7 separate regions of the Homo sapiens genome follow, and regions 1, 3, 4, 5, 6 and 7 are each linked to region 2. Evidence: promoter capture Hi-C in 16 types of primary human blood cells and fetal thymus (Javierre and others, 2016). All regions are on one chromosome and are shown on one strand. The core of a region is centred on a gene start or on the middle of the fragment in contact, and the rest is flanking DNA. Distances in the headings are between cores, read along the strand shown. Region 1 overlaps NEK1 (NIMA related kinase 1). Region 2 holds the start of DDX60 (DExD/H-box helicase 60). Region 3 has its middle 9.1 kb from the start of HPF1. Region 4 overlaps HPF1 (histone PARylation factor 1). Region 5 overlaps CLCN3 (chloride voltage-gated channel 3). Region 6 overlaps CLCN3 (chloride voltage-gated channel 3). Region 7 overlaps CLCN3 (chloride voltage-gated channel 3).

Evidence for each region. The method cuts DNA at HindIII sites, captures the fragments that hold promoters and counts their contacts. A CHiCAGO score of 5 or more calls a contact.
Region 1: a contact is called between a fragment that was not itself captured here and the fragment with the promoter of DDX60 in region 2, in 7 of 17 cell types (total CD4 T cells, naive CD4 T cells, non-activated CD4 T cells and 4 more). The highest score is 8.0, in total CD4 T cells.
Region 3: a contact is called between a fragment that was not itself captured here and the fragment with the promoter of DDX60 in region 2, in 4 of 17 cell types (activated CD4 T cells, total CD8 T cells, non-activated CD4 T cells and 1 more). The highest score is 9.8, in activated CD4 T cells.
Region 4: a contact is called between a fragment that was not itself captured here and the fragment with the promoter of DDX60 in region 2, in 1 of 17 cell types (non-activated CD4 T cells). The highest score is 5.2, in non-activated CD4 T cells.
Region 5: a contact is called between a fragment that was not itself captured here and the fragment with the promoter of DDX60 in region 2, in 4 of 17 cell types (total CD4 T cells, activated CD4 T cells, naive CD4 T cells and 1 more). The highest score is 7.7, in total CD4 T cells.
Region 6: a fragment that was not itself captured here is called in contact with the fragment with the promoter of DDX60 in region 2 in 7 of 17 cell types (naive CD8 T cells, activated CD4 T cells, naive CD4 T cells and 4 more); the score reaches 12.6 in naive CD8 T cells.
Region 7: a contact is called between a fragment that was not itself captured here and the fragment with the promoter of DDX60 in region 2, in 4 of 17 cell types (total CD4 T cells, naive CD4 T cells, naive CD8 T cells and 1 more). The highest score is 7.7, in total CD4 T cells.

The regions. Positions count from the first base shown.
Region 1 is chr4:169,589,087-169,591,827 of GRCh38, reverse strand. NEK1 (NIMA related kinase 1) reads left to right here. Exons shown (of 36, transcript NM_001199397.3): 6 at 1,019-1,102; 7 at 2,314-2,381. Among named protein-coding and RNA genes, the nearest start is that of NEK1, 22 kb to the left of the region's middle. The HindIII fragment of the contact is 5,060 bases long and covers 1-2,741 here.
Region 2 is chr4:168,317,298-168,320,398 of GRCh38, reverse strand. DDX60 (DExD/H-box helicase 60) reads left to right here and starts at 1,647. Exons shown (of 38, transcript NM_017631.6): 1 at 1,647-1,777. RefSeq lists an enhancer at 1,384-1,713. The HindIII fragment of the contact is 2,588 bases long and covers 1-2,158 here.
Region 3 is chr4:169,765,630-169,768,408 of GRCh38, reverse strand. No RefSeq gene overlaps it. Among named protein-coding and RNA genes, the nearest start is that of HPF1, 9.1 kb to the right of the region's middle. The HindIII fragment of the contact is 1,359 bases long and covers 830-2,188 here.
Region 4 is chr4:169,740,958-169,743,657 of GRCh38, reverse strand. HPF1 (histone PARylation factor 1) reads left to right here. Exons shown (of 8, transcript NM_017867.3): 5 at 1,551-1,701. Among named protein-coding and RNA genes, the nearest start is that of HPF1, 16 kb to the left of the region's middle. The HindIII fragment of the contact is 2,572 bases long and covers 104-2,675 here.
Region 5 is chr4:169,662,005-169,664,779 of GRCh38, reverse strand. All of the region lies in intron 2 of CLCN3 (chloride voltage-gated channel 3), which reads right to left. Among named protein-coding and RNA genes, the nearest start is that of CLCN3, 43 kb to the right of the region's middle. RefSeq lists a silencer at 548-842. The HindIII fragment of the contact is 1,603 bases long and covers 449-2,051 here.
Region 6 is chr4:169,631,662-169,634,597 of GRCh38, reverse strand. The region is part of intron 1 of CLCN3 (chloride voltage-gated channel 3); the gene reads right to left. Among named protein-coding and RNA genes, the nearest start is that of CLCN3, 13 kb to the right of the region's middle. The HindIII fragment of the contact is 6,464 bases long and covers 1-2,936 here.
Region 7 is chr4:169,716,518-169,719,230 of GRCh38, reverse strand. All of the region lies in intron 12 of CLCN3 (chloride voltage-gated channel 3), which reads right to left. Among named protein-coding and RNA genes, the nearest start is that of HPF1, 40 kb to the left of the region's middle. The HindIII fragment of the contact is 5,857 bases long and covers 1-2,713 here.

The DNA.
Region 1 (2,741 bases), core at 229-2,728, 1.3 Mb before region 2:
TTTTGCTCTACAGTTGTTTTAAATTGTATGTAGTCAACTTTATCAGTCTTTTTCGTATGACTTAAGCATTTTATGTCATGTTTTGAAAGTCCTGCTTTAGTCAATTATTACAGATAATTAACCTATGTTTTCTTTTATTATTTTTTTTTAGTTTAAAAATGCCATGTACTTGGAATTGTTTTGATGTTAACAATGAGATAGAAATTAAGCCTTTTTATTTCCAAGTGGCCGTCTCCAGAGAAGAGTGTTTATATATAATAAATGTGGGAAGAGAAAAAAAGTCAGAGATGTCTTCCAAATTTCCAGCTTGATTTTTTTCCTTTTGTGATTTTTATATTTTTAAAAAGCATTATAGAGGTCAGATGCAGTGGCTTGTACCTGTAATCCCAGTACTTTGGGAGGCCAAGGCAGGAGGAACACTTGAATCTCAGGAACTCCTGAGACCAGGAGTTCAAGACCACTAGCCTGGGCAACATAGTGGGACACTGTCTCTGTAAAAAAAACAAAAATAAAAAACTAGCTGCTCGTGGTGGCATGCACCTATAGTCCTAGTCCCTCGGAGGCTGAGGCTGGAGGATCATTTAAACCCAGGAGTTTGAGGCTGAAGTGAACTATGATAACACGACTGCACTCCAGCCTGGGTGATAGAGCAAGACCCTATCCCTAAAGAAGTGGGGGGGGGGCGTTATAGAAAAAAGATGTATTAAAAACAAAGAAGAATCACCTGTTTGTCTTAATATTATAAAATATAAATTATTTGCATTTTCACTCATAAAGTTACTTTCCATGTTTGTTTTGATTTATAAGAGATGACCCAGTAACATCTCTTACATTTTGGATTTAGTATGTGCAGAGCTTGTGTTGACTTGAATATCTATTTAATGTCAGTGCCTACAAAGTTAAAAGAAATTGTAGCCTAAAATATCTTTTTAAGGATTTAGTTCCTCTCATCCCTAAATATTCTTGAATTCTTTTAATGGTCAAAGAGAGGCTTGACAGATCTGATTTTTCTTCCTAGATTTTGGACTGGTTTGTACAGATATGTTTGGCCCTGAAACATGTACATGATAGAAAAATTCTTCATCGAGACATTAAATCTCAGGTATGTTATTCTGTCACTGATAACTTCTGAATGGATAAAGACATGGAACCTTCATTGTTTTGGGCCAAAAATTTTTGAACCTGATTTAGTGTGCATCAGATTATCTGTCTTGTCTCTTCCTTTTTATCCTATTCATCTGCATCCTGTATTAGATCTCCTGCTTGCTTCCCATACTCTAAAAATTACTTTCCTTCCCAGTCTCTGAAACTTACAGAACATTTTTTATAACTCCAAAAAGAACCTCGTACCCATTAGCAGTGAGTTCCCATTCCTCTCCACCTAGACTCTGGTAACCCTTAATCTTTCTGTCTGTGTGGATTGGCCTATTCTGGACATTTTATATAAATGGGTATTATGAAGTATGTGCCTTTTGCCTGTCTGTCTGTCTGTCTGTCTGTCTGTCTATCTATTGTTTTTGAGACGGAGTCTCGCTCTTTTGCCCAGGCTGGAGTGCAGTGGCGTGATTTCAGGCTCACCACAACCTCCGCCTCCCAGGTTCAAGCGATTCTCCTGCCTCAGACCAACGAGTAGCTGGGATTGCAGGCACCTGCCACCATGCCTGGCAATTTTTTTTAGTTTTAGTAGAGATGGGGTTTCACCATGTTGGCCAGGCTGATCTTGAACTCCTGACCTCAAGTGATCTGCCTGCCTTAGCCTTCCAAAGTGCTGGGATTACAGGTGTGAGCCACTGCGCCTGGCCCCTTTTGCCTACTTCTAAGTCATACTATTTGGTTTTTTTTGTTGTTATTGTTGAGTTATGCAAGCCCTTTTCTTGATAAAAGTTTTTTCTCAAATATATGATTTGTAAAAATTTTCTCTCATTTTATGGATTGTCTCTTTTCTTGATGGTGTCCTTTGATGCACAAAAGTTTTTAATTTTGATAGTCCAATTTATCCTTTTAATTTTTTTGCTTGTGCTTTTGACGTCATATCTAAGAAACCATTCCCTAGCCCAATGGCATGAAGATTTATTCCTATGTTTTTCTCTAGGAGTTTTGTATTTTAGTTTTGATATTTAGATCTAGACTCCATTTTGAATTAATTTTTGTTTATGATTTGAGGTAGGGGACTTCATTTATTCTTTTGTATGTGAATATCCAGTTACTCTAGCACAATTTTTTTAACTGGATTTTAAATTTTATGAAAAATGTTGACTTAGAACTGGACTGTAACAATATTTCTAGGGTTTTTTTTTTTCCTGTCTTTTACAGAACATATTTTTAACTAAAGATGGAACAGTACAACTTGGAGATTTTGGAATTGCTAGAGTTCTTAATAGGTAACATGAATTTTAAACTTTGTTTTGATATAATGTTTTCAGCGAACCTTCAATCCATGATGATGTATATGTGATAATTTATGGTATCTTTAAGTACATTCTTTACTGGGATGTTGCTTTATTGGGACATGTTCTGAGAAAGGCATCATTAGGTGATTTTGTCAGTGGGTGAATATTATAGAGTGTACTTATACAAACCTAGATGATAGAGTGTGCTACACAGGCAGGCTGTATGGTGTAGCCTATTGTTTCTGGGCTACAAACCGGTACAGCATGTTCTGTACTGAATACTGTAAGAAATTGTAACACAATGGTATATATTTGTTTAAACATAGAAAAGATACAATATAAAAGATAAAA
Region 2 (3,101 bases), core at 398-2,897:
GTCTTCAACGCCATCTGTGTAGTGTCCCCACATTCTGTCACTGACTGTTTCTATCATCACATTGCCCCTCGAACTCCTGTCTCCCTCTTATAAAGGCCCTTCTGATGACCTTGGGCCCACCTGGATAATCCCGGGTAAGGGGTAATCTCCTCTTCTAAAGATTCTTATTTAATCTATTTTGCAAAGTTACTTTTGCTATGAAAGTTACTGTATTCATAGGTTCCAGGAATTAGGATTTTGGCCTCTTTTGGAGGGAGGAGTGCAGGGTATTATTCAGCCTACCCCAGGCAGGTACATCAGAGATCACAGTGAAGGAGACAGGAATATTGGCTGATTTAAGACCAATCATGTGTTAAATTCTAGAGTCTTTTATTTTCTTTCTTAATCTCATCACTAACAAACACGTGAATTTCTAAACAAATGAATAAACAAGTAATTGTCTGATGGATGTGAGAAATGTCCTCCTTCCCCATATCCCCCTCTTTTAACAACTTGACTCTCTAATTTTTCACAAGACAAAGTATCATTCACTACTCTCTCTGTTCTGTGTTCCCTGTGGAGCAGTGCCTGGACCTTGGCTCTTTCCTTTCCTTGTAGACAAAGCAGCCTGTGGCTTCTTATCATGCTGATTACCCAAATTCACTGCTGTCTTTCCTCCACACCCTCTTCTATTTCCAATATATGAATGCATATTTATAGCATTAATGAAATCAAGCATACGAGGGCACTGAAAGGAAAGGAGATGAGTATCGAAACCCACACTGCAAGTATCAACAGGCAAAAATTAAGAGAACATTTCATCAATTTGAGGCACAAATAAATGTGACCATTCTGCATTTTCAATTTATTTTTTAATGTTGATTCTTGGCCCATGAAAGTACCAATTACAGTTTATACAGAACAGTAATCATCAGCTTCTCATAACAGAAACTCAAAGTTCATGTATTGTTACATACTTTCTTTTTTCTTTTTGCATACAAGTAGAAGCAGCAAGATCTCCAATTTCATTGTGGGGTTTCAGATTCCACAGTGTCTTTTACATTTTATCAATTTCTAAATTCTAACTCTTCTTGATTTTATCTTGTTTAGATGTTACAAATTTTTCTGCCTCAATTTACTCTATATTTATGCCCAAATTCCAAAGCCCATTTTTATTGCCTTTGTCTCTCTCTTTTAAGGTTTTTTTTAGTTTCATTTTATTTTTAATTGACGCATAATAATTGTATATATTTTTGGGGTACAATGTGACGTTTCAATACATGTATACATTGTGTGATGATCAAATCAGGATAATTAGCCCATCTATTACCTCAAAACTTTACTATTTCTTTGTGATGAGAATATTCAAAATTCTCTCTTCTAGCTATTTTGAAATATGCATTATTGTTAACTATACACACCCTACTGCAGAATAGAATACCAGAACTGGTTCTTCCTAGCTATTGTAACTTCATACCTTTTAACTAACGTCTCGCCATGCTCCCCTTCTTAAGATTCTGATTGAAGGGAAGGATGCTAAACTTTCCACGAAAGTGCCTCGCCTAATTCGTGCTGAAGGGAAACTGAAACCTAAGTGCTTCTGAGAGGAGAAAGGAAACCGAAACTCCCGCCGGATGCATAAAAGACTGGCTGCGGTGGCTCAGAGCGCCGAGTCCTAGGCCAGGTCTGGGGTAACCTGGAACTTCCACCTGGGCTCTGCGCTAGGTCTCTGTTTCACTCCCTCCCCGCGGGGCGCGCAGCTCGCGGGTCTTTGGACACCACCGGTCCTGAGTCCGCGGTGAGGAGCCGGGGATGTCCCTTGGGAAGAGCCTGGGGCGGAGCTGTCTAGCGGGAGTTCTAGGTCTTCTTCAACGGACCGGACAGGGAGGTGGCCCAGGAGTGCTGGGCTCGGGGCGCGGGAATCTGGGGAACCTCCTGGGATCGCAAGGCCGTGGCGCACGGGCCCCCTGCTGGCCCGGAAGGCCGGGCGTGGGGAGGGGCGGAGGAAAGGGACAACCGCGAAAGGCCTGAAGTCTGAGACAGAGAGGAGTGCTTAGTTAGGCATTTAAGGAGTCCCCGTCAAAGGTGGGAGCTGGGTAATGGAGGTTGAGGAGAAATTAAGGGACATCATATCTAAGCACAGCCAGTAAAACCTGTACATTGACAGCAGCAAGAAGCTTCCACCTTCAATCCCTGCTCCAGACTTGTAGAATCAGAATCTGCGTTTATTAATAAGATTCCCCCAGGTAATTTCTGTGCACCCTTAAATTTCAGTGGCTTAAGACAATAGAAATTTATTTCCTACTCCAGTAACTTAATTTATTCCTGGTCAAGGGGCAGGTATAGTGGCTTAAAACATTACAAGTTTATTATTTTACAATTGCTGTGGATCAGAAGCCCAGGCATGGGTAAAGTGAGTTCTCTGTTCAGCATCTCATCGAGCTGAAATCAAGGTGTCAGAGCTGTGGCCTCATGGGACACCATGGATGCTCATTCAGGTTGTTGGAAGAATTCAGTTTCTTGCAGCTAAAGGACTGAGGTTACCTGCTTTCTTGCTGGCTGTTGGCTGGGGGTTCCCATGTCTTTAGATTTCACCCTGAGATCTTAGCTACAGTGGCCTTCTCACAACAAGGTGGCTTATACCGTTAAAGAAGGTATAGGGTACCTTTAAAGAAGGTATAAGCCTCTTTGGGGGAATCTCCCGAGTCTACTATGATGAAGTCTTACATAATATAACCGAATCATTAAAGAGACTATGCCATTAAATTCACAGGTCCTGTCCACACTCAAGGGGAGAGGGTTATACCGGGTACTGGAAGCCATTTTAACCCACCAGCTCTTCTCCAGGCAGGGTTTCAGGAGCTTGATGCCTTTCATCAAGTAGCTCCACCATTCTGTTCCAATACAGAATCCATGATTTCCTTTCCCTTCCCTTGCCCCCATTTTTTTCCTCTTTACCTCCCCTTTGCGCCTTTCCTCTTCCCTCCTTTTTTCTCTTTTCCATTTCTCTTCCTCCCTTCTTCTTTTCTTCTTCCTTTTTAAGATTGTTTGAATCAGAATATGGTTCTGACACTACTGTGATTGGAGGATAAGCCTTATAAGGTTCTTGCAATTTCTTTCAT
Region 3 (2,779 bases), core at 260-2,759, 1.4 Mb before region 2:
AGGATGGGACTAGAACCTGGGTTTGCCAATCTTTCGTCCAATGCATTTTGTAAAACCTGACCTTCAGGTTATAACTCTGAAGGGGCTGAAGACAAGTAGAATGGAGATAAATCAGATAAGCCCTGACTTTTTTATCCTACCATGTGTAGGTTATTCCCAAGCAGCAGTGCCCTTAACTCATGCCAATGGGAAAATAACATATGCTCTTTTTATTTTGTCTCTGTTTATTTATTTATTTTAAAACGTTTTTATTTTACTCTCCTTCCCCACCCCCACCTTATTGAGATATAATTGACAAATAAAAATTCTATATAGTTAAGGTGTACAACTTGATGTTTTAATATACATATATTTTTGTGAAATTATCACCATAATCAAGCTAATTAACATAGCATCACCTCACACAGTACCTTTGTGTGTGTATGTGGTTAGAACATGTAAGATCTGCCCTCCTAGCAAATTTTAAATATGCAATACAATATTCTTAACTGTAGTCACAATGTGGTACATTGTTTTGTTCAATTTCAGACTGCCTTGTTTACAAAGCAATTTGGGAATATGGATTATGACACTAAGTTTATTCCTGTCTGTGAAGCCAGCAGTTCCTCTAAGAATTTAAACTAAGGTAATATTCCAAAATATTTTTTAAAACCTTATGTACAAAAATGTTGACCACAGGGTTATACATAGCAATAAAAAGTTATGACACACAGTAAAAACTTATAACTACGAGAACAGTTACTTTATCAAACATTTGTCCAATGGCATATTTATGTAGCCATTAAAATATTGATGAAGCATTTTTACAATGTTTATTTGTTATTAAGCTTACTTTTTAAGGCCTATTACCAAATTTTATGTGCAGCATTATTTCATTTAACAAACTATAATAAGATACATGTAGAAAAATACTGAATATACCAAATATTGTCTGAGGCTACATCTAGGTGGCATAATATAATTAATTTTCTTTTTATTTTTAGATAGTATTCAAATTTTCTAAAATTATTACTACTTTTTATAGAGACAGGGTCTTGCTATGTTGCCCAGACTGGTCTCAAACTCCTGGATTTAAGTGATCCTCCCACCTCAGCCTCCCAAAGTGCTGGGATTACAGGAATAACCCACTGCACCCAGCCCTAAAATTAAGTATAACTTTATATTCAGAAATTAAACACATAACTTGGAAGGTGAGGAGAATGACCTTATACAAGGCAATTACTCAATAGTAATATCCTGTTGGATCCTTCTAGTAACTGCTCCCTACATTCCCAGCTCCTGTTTCCTTGGCTATTTTCCACAATCTTGATCTCAGTTGCTGCTTTTGATGTTCCCTTGTAACATCACCTCGCAAACTCCTCATATTACCTGAGCTTGCTCTCTACCATATCGCCCTTTGTTGTGTCACTTCTTATTTCCTGGTGGTAACACTAGTCGTTCAGAATTTTTGCTCTGATCAACTCTGTGATAGTCACAGAGTAAAATGATTAGATCAATTCTTTTAAAGAGACTACTCTGGAGCAATGTGTCTGGAAGGTTGGAGTGTGATAAAGACTTACATAATTCTTACACTGCTTCTATGTGACTAGCAGGAATACTGACTGTACATTTATAGGACTCCTCAGTACACTATAAGCTCCTGGAACATAGCAACTGTGTCATCTTGGTCTTTTCAGTGCCTAACATAGTTCTGACACATAATTGGGACTTAATAAATGTTCTGAATGAACAAATAACTGAATGGATGAAAGGATGGGCAAGTAACTATTTAATGATGGTGACTGCTATTCATTAAAGAGGTCGATAAGCCAATTAATATTTACTGAGCACCCATTATGTGCCAGTTTGTGCTCAGAGCTAGATTCTAAGAAATTGTGGTAGGAAAAGAATTGGCGAATCAGCTGGAATTTTCATCCACTGTAAATATGAAGACTGGAGAACCTCTGGGGCCTTTCAAAGATGTGTTTGGATCATCCAACTAGTGCTAATTAAGGGTTACATGGTCCCAGAGTAACTGATCTGGATTAAGCATAATTGGGCAGACCAGTTTCACCACCATTTAGCTGTATAATTTGCCAGAGTCAAAGTGGCCAAAGGTAAGGCCAAGAGTGCAGTGTCAAAGATTAATGCTACAGCTCATTTGCAGCCCATCAATAACAATTGTCTAGGATCAGCTCTGCCTGAAGCTTCTGCTAACTTTTATACAGCAAATTAGAAAAAAAGTTTATCCTTCCCAAATCTGTTTCTTCTGCAATACAATCACCCATATCTCCCAAATTAGGTCCCCCTGCTATGAATAGCCCCTAAAAGAAGTCCTATTTTACAGCCTATTTGGGAATCAGAATCATAAGGCTATGGGGGCTCTGGGCCTTCTCAAAGCTGATTTATCCTCCAGGGTTGGCCAACAGCGTGAGTCACAGGACTCAGCTCAATCCTGACTGCCAGAGTGAATGACTTCCATCATTTAGAACCTTAGAAATTCAATTGGATAAGCCTGTAATTCCTTACACATGTGCTGCTCTATGTGGTTATTCTGCCCTGAATACACGTTAATGCTGAATGTCTGGCTACACTCTCAAGTCCTGGGATCCTAAGTGGCATCTTGTCTTGTCTTTAATTTTCAGCAGCTCTCATAACAAAGGCAGAAAGAAATGCTTAAGAAGCTAGCTATGACATCTATGGCCTTCAAAGTGCACAAAGATTGAAAAAAAAAGAAAAAACTTGTAAAAATATTCTCTTTTTTTTTTTTTTTTTGAGACAGAGTCTTGCTCTGTTGCCC
Region 4 (2,700 bases), core at 140-2,639, 1.4 Mb before region 2:
CCTGTTTATGACAAAATATAAAATTATTTCCATAAGTGGCATTAACATGATATATATTCACATACTTTTGAGAACTACTTTGGATTATGCTTTTGTATAAGCTTACAAAGTAGCTTTGCTTTCCTTTTGTGTTTTCTAAATTTTTCTTAACACAAACTTCAACATTAAAAAAAAAATCTATCGACCTTTAGTGTTATAATAGTGTCCTGTCTCTTTAAAAATGAAAAAAAAAAAAAAAAAAAAAAAAAGGCCAGGGGCAGTGGCTCACGCCTGTAATCCCAGCACTTTGGGAGGCCAAGGCAGATGGATCACCTGAGGTCAGGAGTTCGAGACCACCCTGACCAACATGAGGAAACCCTGTCTCCACTAAAAATACAAAAATTAGCTGGGCGTGGTGGCATGTACCTGTAATCCCAGCTACTCGGGAGGCTGAGTCAGGAGAATCATTTGAACCTGGGAGGTGGAGGTTGCAGTGAGCTGAGACCCTGCCACTGCACTCCAGCCTGGGCAACAAGAATGAAACAACATCTCGGAAAAAAAGACAGTTTTTTGTTTTTTTTTTTGAGGCAGTCTTAGGCTGAAGTGCAGTGGCACGATCTCGGCTGACTGGATGGCTGCAACCTCTACCTCCCGGGTTCAAGTGGTTCTCGTACCCCAGCCTCCCGGGTAGCTGTGAATACAGGTGCATGCCACCATGCCCAGCTAATTTTTGTATTTTTGGTGGAGACAGGGTTTCACTATGTTGGCCAGGTTGGTCTCCAACTCCTGACCTTGAGTGATCCGCCCACCTCGGCTTCCAAAAGTACTGGGGTTACAGGCATGGACCACCATGCCTGGTCCCTGAAAATATATACATATATTTTTTTGAGACGGAGTCTTGCTCTGTGGCCCAGGCTGGAGTGCAGTGGCGCGATCTCGGTTCACTGCAAGCTCTGCCTCCCGGGTTCACGCCGTTCTCCTGCCTCAGCCTCCCAAGTAGCTGGGACTACAGGCGCCCGCCATCACGCCCGGCTAATTTTTTGTATTTTTAGTAGAGACGGGGTTTCACCTTGTTAGCCAGGATGGTCTTGATCTCCTGACCTCATGATCCGCCCGCCTTGGCCTCCCAAAGTGCTGGGATTACAGGCGTGAGCCACTGCGCCTTGCCTGAAAAATTTTTTTGATGTCTACTTTTTTTTGATGTCTACTTTTTTTTCTGTTAGGTCAGACTTCTCCAAAGTAGTATGCCATATCTTAGTATCAAGTGATACAGTTTAAACCTTGACTAATCTCAGCTTTGCAAATACCCCTTATACCTTTATTGTAGACATTAGAGTGCTAATATAAATTTGAATCGTATTTGCTCTTTCTCTGACTGGCAGTTTTTTATGAATATTGCTTTTCTCTTATTTGAAGAAAACTATTAGGGATTTTGAGAGAAGTGTTGGTAATTATTCTGTGGACTTATTCTTGTATGGAATTTGACATTTTTACCTTGGCTCAACTTTGAAAGGTCTTTGTACTTAGTACAGTGGCCTGCCACATAATGCGGACTTTTACTTCTTTTTCAGATTATTTTTGACGAAAAAACTTAGAGAAATAACGGATAAAAAGAAAATCAATCTCTTGAAAAACATAGATGAAAAACTCACAGAAGCAGCCAGAGAATTGGGGTACTCGCTTGAACAGAGAACCGTGAAGATGAAACAGAGAGATAAGAAAGTATGATTTCAACCTGTTGGTCTCTGTTTTGCTATAGCATATTTTTTTCCCCTCTTGATTCCTTCCCATCTCTACTTTACCCTTCTCTTCCCTAGTCCTATCTTAAGAACTGGATGCTGTCCCTTAGGGATGTTAGGAGGATGGCACTGAAAGAGGATGGCACTGAAACAGGGGTCAGATGGCTCCTTTGGGTTGGTACACTGATTGAATTGCGCAACTGGTGATATCACTGCTGTGGTTGAATAACTCATGCCAGTATTTACCACTCTTTTAATCTTGTTTACCATTTAATCACTTCATAAAGTTAAGTGAAAGCTGCTTTGTACATAATGAAATTTACATACATACATTTTCTCCAGTAAACGTGTATATAAGCAGTGCTCCTTTCTTTTTCCTTATTAATCCTATCATTTCCTTTTGCATCTCTCCTAATGTCTGCAATATGAGGGGAGTATTTTGTAAAGGAGCAAATACTTGTTAATGTTGGATTCTTTTGGTTTTTCAGCTATAGATTTCAGAGTAAGTTAATGACAAGCTGGAAGATTTCTGGTTTGGAGTAAATGAGAATTCTATAGGAGTTTGTTCTTATGGCCTCTGGGGAAAAAACAAAAACAAAAAAAAAATTTGTCACTGGAATGAGGGCTCCCCAGTCTCCTCCAGCCTCTCACCATTTGTCTGCCCATGCTGGTTCATCTGAATGTTCTAAGCTAAATGGAGAACTTGCTATTCCTTAATAAACTAGCACTGGTAATGAAGTACCTTAGTGTACTTAGGCATTAAATCCTACTTCAGTTCCTTCTCTGATCTTGATTCAGCTGCAGGGGTGACATTTGTATCAAGTTCTAGGCACTCTTTAGTCCTATAGACTGGAAAGTTTCTTAAAACATACATTTTAATGAAACCCATTACAATATGGCATTTTAAATATTAAGATTTTATATTGCCATTTACCTTTCTGGTTATCACAGGAAGCTTCTTCCACTTTGTGACTAGGAGGAA
Region 5 (2,775 bases), core at 1-2,500, 1.3 Mb before region 2:
AAAATTAACCATACTAAAGTGTCAGCTATTTTTAGAAAATCAAGCTAGAGGTAGTAATATGAACCAGATTTTATTGAAGATTTGAAATTCAGATACTGTGGGAAAAGTACATTTAAAAACAGGCTTTGTTTTATACTACTGTTGTAGAAACAAGGAGTTTCTGACACCAAATAAAGAATCTTTAGTTGTTCCTTTAATTTACAGACACTTAGATGGATTAATTTTTAAGAAGAGGTTTAATTTTCTAGTTGGATAAAATATTAGGGCCAATAAAAATATAATAAGTATCTGAATCCTAAAATCATTTTACAAAGAGCCTGCAGAATGTCCCTCTGGCAATAAGAATATCATATAACACCTGGATTTTCAAATAATGTGCAAAAAATGATACTTTTCAAAGGGAAGAAAAAGGAACAAACCTCTATTATAATAGAAACCCAAAAAAGCTTTATTTAGATACACTGCTGAGCTAATGAATGTCAAGAAATAATTTCAGGGAGAAACTTGAAAAAATAAGACCCCAAACTTTTATTTCAATGGCAAAGCGACACTTTTTGTGGTTTAAGCCCATCATTAGTCCTCTAGGATCTGCCACTCTTCCAACTTCCACCTTTCTACACTACCCTCTCTACTGACTCACAACAAAGCTGCCTTTGTTGTATCAAAACTAATCCAAGAGCAACACACTAGGCATTTCCTCCTGTTATCGCATTTACTCATTTTATTATATCCACCAGGAATGCCCTATTGAGTCCCCTGTGTATGTGAGAACAGTCTACTTTGATAACACTTGTCAAAAGCAGACTAATCTGTTCTTGGGACTTTGGGGGAAGAAGAGATTTCTATCATTTCTATCGTTCACTAGAAATTTACTAACTTCCACAGGATTCTGTCTGTGTTTAAACTTCTTATGCTTCTACCAGACTTAAAACACAAGTTACTATGAAGATACGTGTAGAGAGAAGCAGTTTAGCCTCATGATTAAAGTATGAGCCAAATATCTGGATGGAATTCTGACTTTTCCTTAACAATTCCTTACCTCAGTCTTGTCAACTAGAAAATGGGGATTATAACAGTACCTACTTCATAAACTTGTGATGAGGATTTAAATAATTTCATACACATAAAGCACTTAGAACAAGCCAGGCACAGTGGCTCGCACCTGTAATCTCAGCTACTTGGGAGGCCAAGGCAGGAGGGTTGCTTGAGCCCAGGAGTTGGAGACCAGCCTGGACAACATAGTGAGACTCTCCCTAAAAAAAAAAAAAATTTTGTTTTTTAAATTAGCCAGGCAAGGTGTTGCAAGCCTGCAGTCCCAGGTACCAAGGAGGGTGAGACGGAGGATCTAAGCCCAGTAGTTCAAGGCTGCATTTGCTATAATCACTCCACTGCACTCCAGCCTGGGTGAAAAAGTGATACCTCTCTCTTAAGAAAACAACAACAACAACAACAACAACAACAACAAAAAAACCCACTTAGGACAGTATCCAGCTAACAGGAAATTCTAATAAATATTAACTATTATTAATATTACTATTTTTATAATTCTCCACAGCACCTAGGAGTGCCATATGTGTGTGTATATGTATATATATATATACACATATACGCACACACACACATATATATACACACACACACACACACACACACATATATGCTCACTCTGAATGAAACAATTAAATATTTAAATAATTGTTAAAGGCCCCTCATGGAGTAAATGGAGGCTCAGGCCCAAAAGATCAAATCCATTATAAAGGGTTGGTAGAAGAAAGAAATTTGACCTCTAAAACTACTTAAACATCTTGAACAAATTAAGAAGAAAAAGTGTAAAACTAACAGTCCAGATAAGCCAAGTCTTTTTTCCTGATAAAAAAGGAAGAGACATTTTGAGAGAGCTTGATTGTTTCTATATAGGAAATCTACCCCTAAAGATGGCTATTTCTGAAATGTCATCTTAATTTCTAATCTATCAATAGTATATCAAACTAATTCTAATTTGAATCTACTTATACTTCCAGACTTGACATTATTTACTTAAATAGGAAGCTTCACCATTTACCATCTCGCCTTGAAAAGTAGTATTAAATTCAATTTACTCAACAAAGGTAATCCTTGGCTATAGCACTCAGGGATTTACTAAACAGATCCATGTTTACTTTATTGATATCCTTCACAATTTTATACTTTATCTGCCTCTTCACTATCAGGCTGAAGATCAATTTTAATCATTATAGTTTTGTTCTTCCTCACAGGGAAGCTGATTCAGTTTTTTCGATTTGTTAGCTGCCTGTCTCCATCAATTCCATTGTGTTGACCCATGGCTACAACAGGTCATAAATTATGGACAAAAAATAACATCTTACGCATAGACACTAGGATACTACAGTATGTTTGAGGTAATACAGTACAGTCACGAAAGCCTAATAACTGACTTATCTCTACTACACATACACAATGTTACTTTCAAATAACAATGACTTATATTAATAGAATAAGTCTCATCAAGGGATAAAGAACCTATTTGAGCTGCCAAGAGTGGGACTGATTTAGATCCTAAGCAAGATTCTTAAAGGATTATTTATGAAAGTATAATAGAAATAAAAAGCTTACGTTTAGGTAATATCAGTAACCATGCCTACTCTCACATAAGTTTTGACTTATTTCTTATTATTTGCATATTTTACACTAAGACAGTCCATAAGTAAGTTCTGTCAAAGACTGTTAAGCTTCACAAAAGGAATTTAAATTTCTGAAGCCCAGGTATTCTGATCT
Region 6 (2,936 bases), core at 241-2,740, 1.3 Mb before region 2:
TATAGTTATCGCTACCAAAGATGGCATATTATACTGAGATGAGATTTGTTAGAGTATATTAATTAAAACAATAGGAAAGTATGAAAGTAGTTGTTCATACTAAGAAATCTGCAGTTCCATAGAGGCAAACAAATTAAATATTATGTGGCTTTTGAGAAAATTACCAAAAGGCTTTTAAAAACATAAACATTAATAGCTTAAGAATCATTTAATTTTGATGTATCAAAGCATGTATGCTAAGATTTTTGTGAAGAACACAGACACTCTGTTTTTATTTCTTTACAGAATAGAAGGGCTTAATACATATGATAACATTTCAGTGAACATTAGCTAGAGGCTACACAGCACTAAGAAATCTCTGTAAAATCATTAAACCTTTTTATGTGTTAATACTTCAATCAGCAAATTCCAATATATCTCCTCCATTTTATCCCTAAAAGTCTCTCAAAAATCGTAAGTGGTAACTGGAAATTTAACTATTTCCGTTAAAAAAATTAATTTCATAATACCTTTGAGACACCTAGCCTGCAGATCATTCTTTGTAACACAAGCATGCAACTCTGCTCCAAATAAACCAATTAAACCCAGGCCTGCATGGGTTTCTATTTCTATAAATTTGATAACTTAAGATAAAAAAAAAAAACTATTCCACGTATTAACCCAGAAACCTATAGAGCTGTACTGACTGATGCAGCAGCCAGCATACATACGGCTATCGAGCCATTGAAACATGGCTGGTCCAAACTGAAATGTGCTCTAAGTGTAAAATACCTACCAGATTTCTAAGACTTAATATTTAAAAAGGATGTCAAATATTTGACTAGAAATTTTATACTGATTACATGTTGAAATATTTTAGATCCATTGGGTTAAATAAAATATATTTGAAATGAATCTCACCACTTTCTTTTTACCTTTTTAATGTGGCTACTGAAAAATTAAAAATTACCTATGTGGCTTGCATTTGCAGCACTAACACTTTTATTGAACAGCACTGCTATAAAATATTCAAATTTCTATAGTAGCATAAAGGACATATAACAGAAGGAAATCTGAACACTAGTGTTAAATATTTTCAGGTTCTAAACCCAATTCCCAGGCTTGGGCACAAAAGGCTATTTAGACTCTAACACAGCAGATGAAATTTTACATATTTAAAAAAAATAATGCAAAGTCACCTTTTCCATTTTAATCACCAAAAATATACTTATAATCATTTCAAAACATTGTAATAGATACACAGTAGCTTGTAAATATATTCTTACAAAATTATAAAAATTAGAGATAAGCTGGGTGTGGTGGCGCATGCCTGTAGTTCCAGCACTTTGGGAGGCCGAGGCAGCTGGATCGCTTGAGGTCAAGAGCTCAAGACCCACCTGGCCATGGTGGTGAACCCCATCTCTATTAAAAATAAAAAATTAGCCGGGCGTGGTGGCAGCCGCCTGTAACCCCAGCTACTAAGGAGCCTGAGGCATGAAAATCGCTTGAGCCAGAGAGGCGGCAGTTGCAGTGAGCTGAGATTATGCCACTGCACTCCAGCCTGGGAAACAGAGTGAGACTCTGTCTCAAACAAAGTAATAATAATAATCAGAGATAAACTATGAAAACTTCCAGTAATAAGGCCTCGTTTACCTAATAAATTCCTATATTATCTACGTGCAATTATTTTGCTTCCTTCGAATCTGATGACACTGCAGCCAGCACAGTTTTTTTTTCCAAAAAGTAAGTTTGCTCATAATCTCTCTCCATTCCATGTTAACATCTCTTAATCATTTCCTGCTACCCTTAAGAAACAAACTCTTTAATATAGCAGAAAAAGTTCTATGCAGCCCAACCCCTGCTAGTTCCCCAGCACTTTTTTTTTTTTTTTTTTTTTTTTTTGAGATGGAGTCTCGCTCTGTCACCCAGGCTGGAGTGCAGTGGCGCGATCGCTGCTCACTGCAAACTCCGCCTCCTGGGTTCAGGCCATTCTTCTGCCTCAGCCTCCCGAGTACCTGGGACTACAGGCGCCCGCCACTGCGCCCGGCTAATTTTTTGTGTTTTTAGTAGAGACGGGGTTTCACCATGGTCTCAATCTCCTGACCTCGTGATCCGCCCGCCTCGGCCTCCCAAATTGCTGGTATTACAGGCCTGAGCCACCGCGCCTGGCCCCAGCTTCTTTTAATAGCCATTCTGACTGGCGTGAGATGGTGTCTCACTGTGGTTTTGATTTCCATTTCGCTAATCATTAGTGATGTTGAGCATTTTTTCACATGCTTGTTGGCCAGTTGTATATCTTACTTTGAGAAGTATGTACTTCCTGAAGTACTCTAGACTCACTGATCTTTCAATCTCTCAGTCCTATCAAGCTCTTTCCTGACTCCTGCCCCAAGGCCTTTGTTGCTCCCTCTGCCTGGATCATACCCTCTTCTCTTTAACAACTCACTCTCTTAATATTTTGTTGAAGGTTTTTACATCTATGTTCATCAGGGATATTGACCTGTACTTTTCCTTTTTCATTGTGTCTTTGCCAGGTTTTGGTATCGGGGTGAAGCTGGAATGAGTTAAGGAGGAGCCCCTCCTCATTTTTTGGAGTCGTTTCAGTAGAATTGGTACCAGCTTTCTTTGTACATCTGATAGAATTCAGCTATGAATACATCTGGTCCAGGGCTTTTCTGGTTGGTAGATTTTTTATTACCGATTCCATTTTGGAACTCGATATTGGTCTGTTCAGGATTTCAATTTCATCCTGATTTAATCTTGGGAGGCTGTTTCCAGAATTTACCCATTTCCTCTAGATTTTCTAGTTCGTGTTTACAGATGTGTTCATAATAGTCTCTGGGGATCTTTTGTATTTCCATGGGATTGGTTGTAATGTCACCTTTGTTGTTTCTGATTGTGTGGTGATTTGGATCTTGTCTCTTTCTCTGTTAATCTAGCTAACGTCTGACAAAGGT
Region 7 (2,713 bases), core at 84-2,583, 1.4 Mb before region 2:
CCTCCCAAAGTGCTGGGGATTACAGGCGTGAGCCACTGCACCCAGCCACTTTCCCTTTTTTAACCAAAATTAACCAATTTTTCAAAGATAATTTAAGGATTGCCCACTTGTATCAGAATCTTCATGAAAGCACATACTATTAAGATAAAATGCATATAAAATGGTCAGCACAGAACGTCAATCCCAAACATCAGAGCCCCAAGAACAAATCTATAAAAGAATCCAAGTTTCTAGGACACTTATCAATGTTTTCCTTTTTTTGATTTAGGCCAGGAAAGTTAAGATACAGTGCTTTTATGAAAGTCTTAGTTGTTAATGCTTACATTAAAAGATAGGTGAAAAATCAGAAGGCAGTCCTAAAAGATTATTATAGGTGAAGCAGAAAGCAGAATGAATGAGTAGCTACGATAATATTCTGGTTAGTAGTTTTTTAAAAAAGGATGCATGAAACACTTGTGAAATATTAGCATACACACAGGAATACATAATCAGTTGTGCACTTAAGCAAACTGGGACAGGTTTCATACAGGTATGACAATTGCAGGGCAAAATAATTTCGGGCATTAATTGCTAAAGCCAGACATTTTTTATGTTATGCAGTAAGATAATTCAAATTTGTAGTCATGAAACCACTAGGACATAAAGCCAGTTAAAATGAATGCATTTGACTCTAAAAGCTGCTTATAGCGTTCCAGAAACATCATACAAAAGGGGCACACACATAATCTAGGTACAATTCACTAATGAGATGGCAGGACACACACTGTGACTTTGAAGATATGCAGGGTATAGCAGAAAAAGAACTAATGCTATGATCACAAATAATATACACATTACACTCTAGTTAGTGTGCCCATTAAAAAATCCATTTAACTGTAAGCAGTTCTAATTGCTAAGCTCCTTTAAAATCCTTTAGGAGCTTAGATTTACCATAAGACTACCACAAGATCGGGAAACATTTAAAAAAAAAAAAAAGGGCTTGCGGGGATGGGTCAGACATTTTTAACCAGTCAGGTGTCTTCTGAGACCGGTGTATCCACTGAGGTAGACAGATTTGCCATATTCACTTTAAGAATGTCCAATAATATTCACTTATTCCACTACCAAACTGTTTACAGTTCTGAAATTGTAATGAATGATTTGATGAGAGATGTTAACTTTTGCTTACTTTCTATAAATGGGATTTTACACATATCTAAATTTATCTTACAGACACATTTTATCAGATACAAATGTAATTGGCAGCATAGTAGGATATTTTTGTTCAGCAGATATCTGGGAAAGACAGAACTCAACAGTTCACAAGTTTCATGCTTCCTGACTTCTAAGGTGTCTAATGAGGAGATCTGATATATCTAATCACCAAGGGTTCGACGTGCTGCTTTAGTTGCTCGAGATGCTCTAATATGTTCTTCTTTGTGATGATCCCCAAGACAATCCTGAAACAGATTATTATGCTAATAACTGTGTGAGAAATTAAATTAAAAGAGTTTCCAATCATAATGATAAAGAATGAGAGAAAAAATAAAAACATGAACCATAAGAATGAGTCTCATGAACTTTAGAAAATAAAAACAAAATGATTTAAAGTTCCAGGTTCCTTTTGCATAAATTCTACTGACTTTCAAAAGTGACACAATACTAATCTTCAATATTGGTGGGTTATTTTTCTTTTTAAAGTAAAAATAATAATTATGAAAGTTTGGAATGAAGATGACTACAAAGCAAAGTACAAAAGAAACTTAATATTGATACATAGCTATAGACCTCTGATATGTAGAGTTTCATTTACAATGTTCTTTCCTCAGAGGAAAATATTTTTCTAATTTCTATGATGTCACAACACAGCAGTTATCATCTGGATCTACCTTGGTGAAAAGGTAGCAAAAGGCTGTGAGGAGACTTAAAAACTCCCGTGGATTTTACTATAATTTCAAATTAAAATTAAAGGCAATGTGCACTAAATAAATAATGCTGACCAAAAGAAACACTCCCTAATGTTCAGGAGCTGTGACTGCCACTTCTTAAAGTAAGCTAATAAAATGTATTTATGATTAGGGATTAAAAGGACTTTCACTTTGTGCATTTTTTTCTAAATAACAATTGTTTCTCATTTAGCATGTCACTGTTATCACATCAAGCAAAGTGATGGACATAAATTCTCATAATGAGGATACATGAAAATAATTAGATTGCTAATTAAAACAAAACTATGGTTACTGGTTTTATAATGGAAATTAATGTGGCAATATAAACAGTGAAAATAAAAAAACCTTAAAAAAACTTTAATCTTTAAATTCTGGAAGCCCATCCAAAATACCCTTCAGGATGACTGGACATTTCCTTGATGATCTCATTAAGTCAACCTCCCTGTTAAACTGCCTTTGAACATTCAGACTTGAAGGATGTCACTAGGAGACTTCAAAGTAGCCTGTTCCTATAGCTACGTCCAGGTGTAAAATAGTTACTTAGCTTGATGGCTGGGGTGGGAGGTGGGGGAGCAGGAGGATAGAGAATGGGAATGACAGAAATGGGTTCTCTGCTCATGTTTTCTCATTATTATGTTAAAAATAATGTATCGATCCTTAAAAGTTCTCAGAGCATGGGAGCAACTTCCCCCTCCAAAAAAGCTCAGAAAATGCACTATATATAATGAACATTCACTCATTCAATAGATGTTCTTCATTGACTAAACATTTGAGATTTCTTTTTT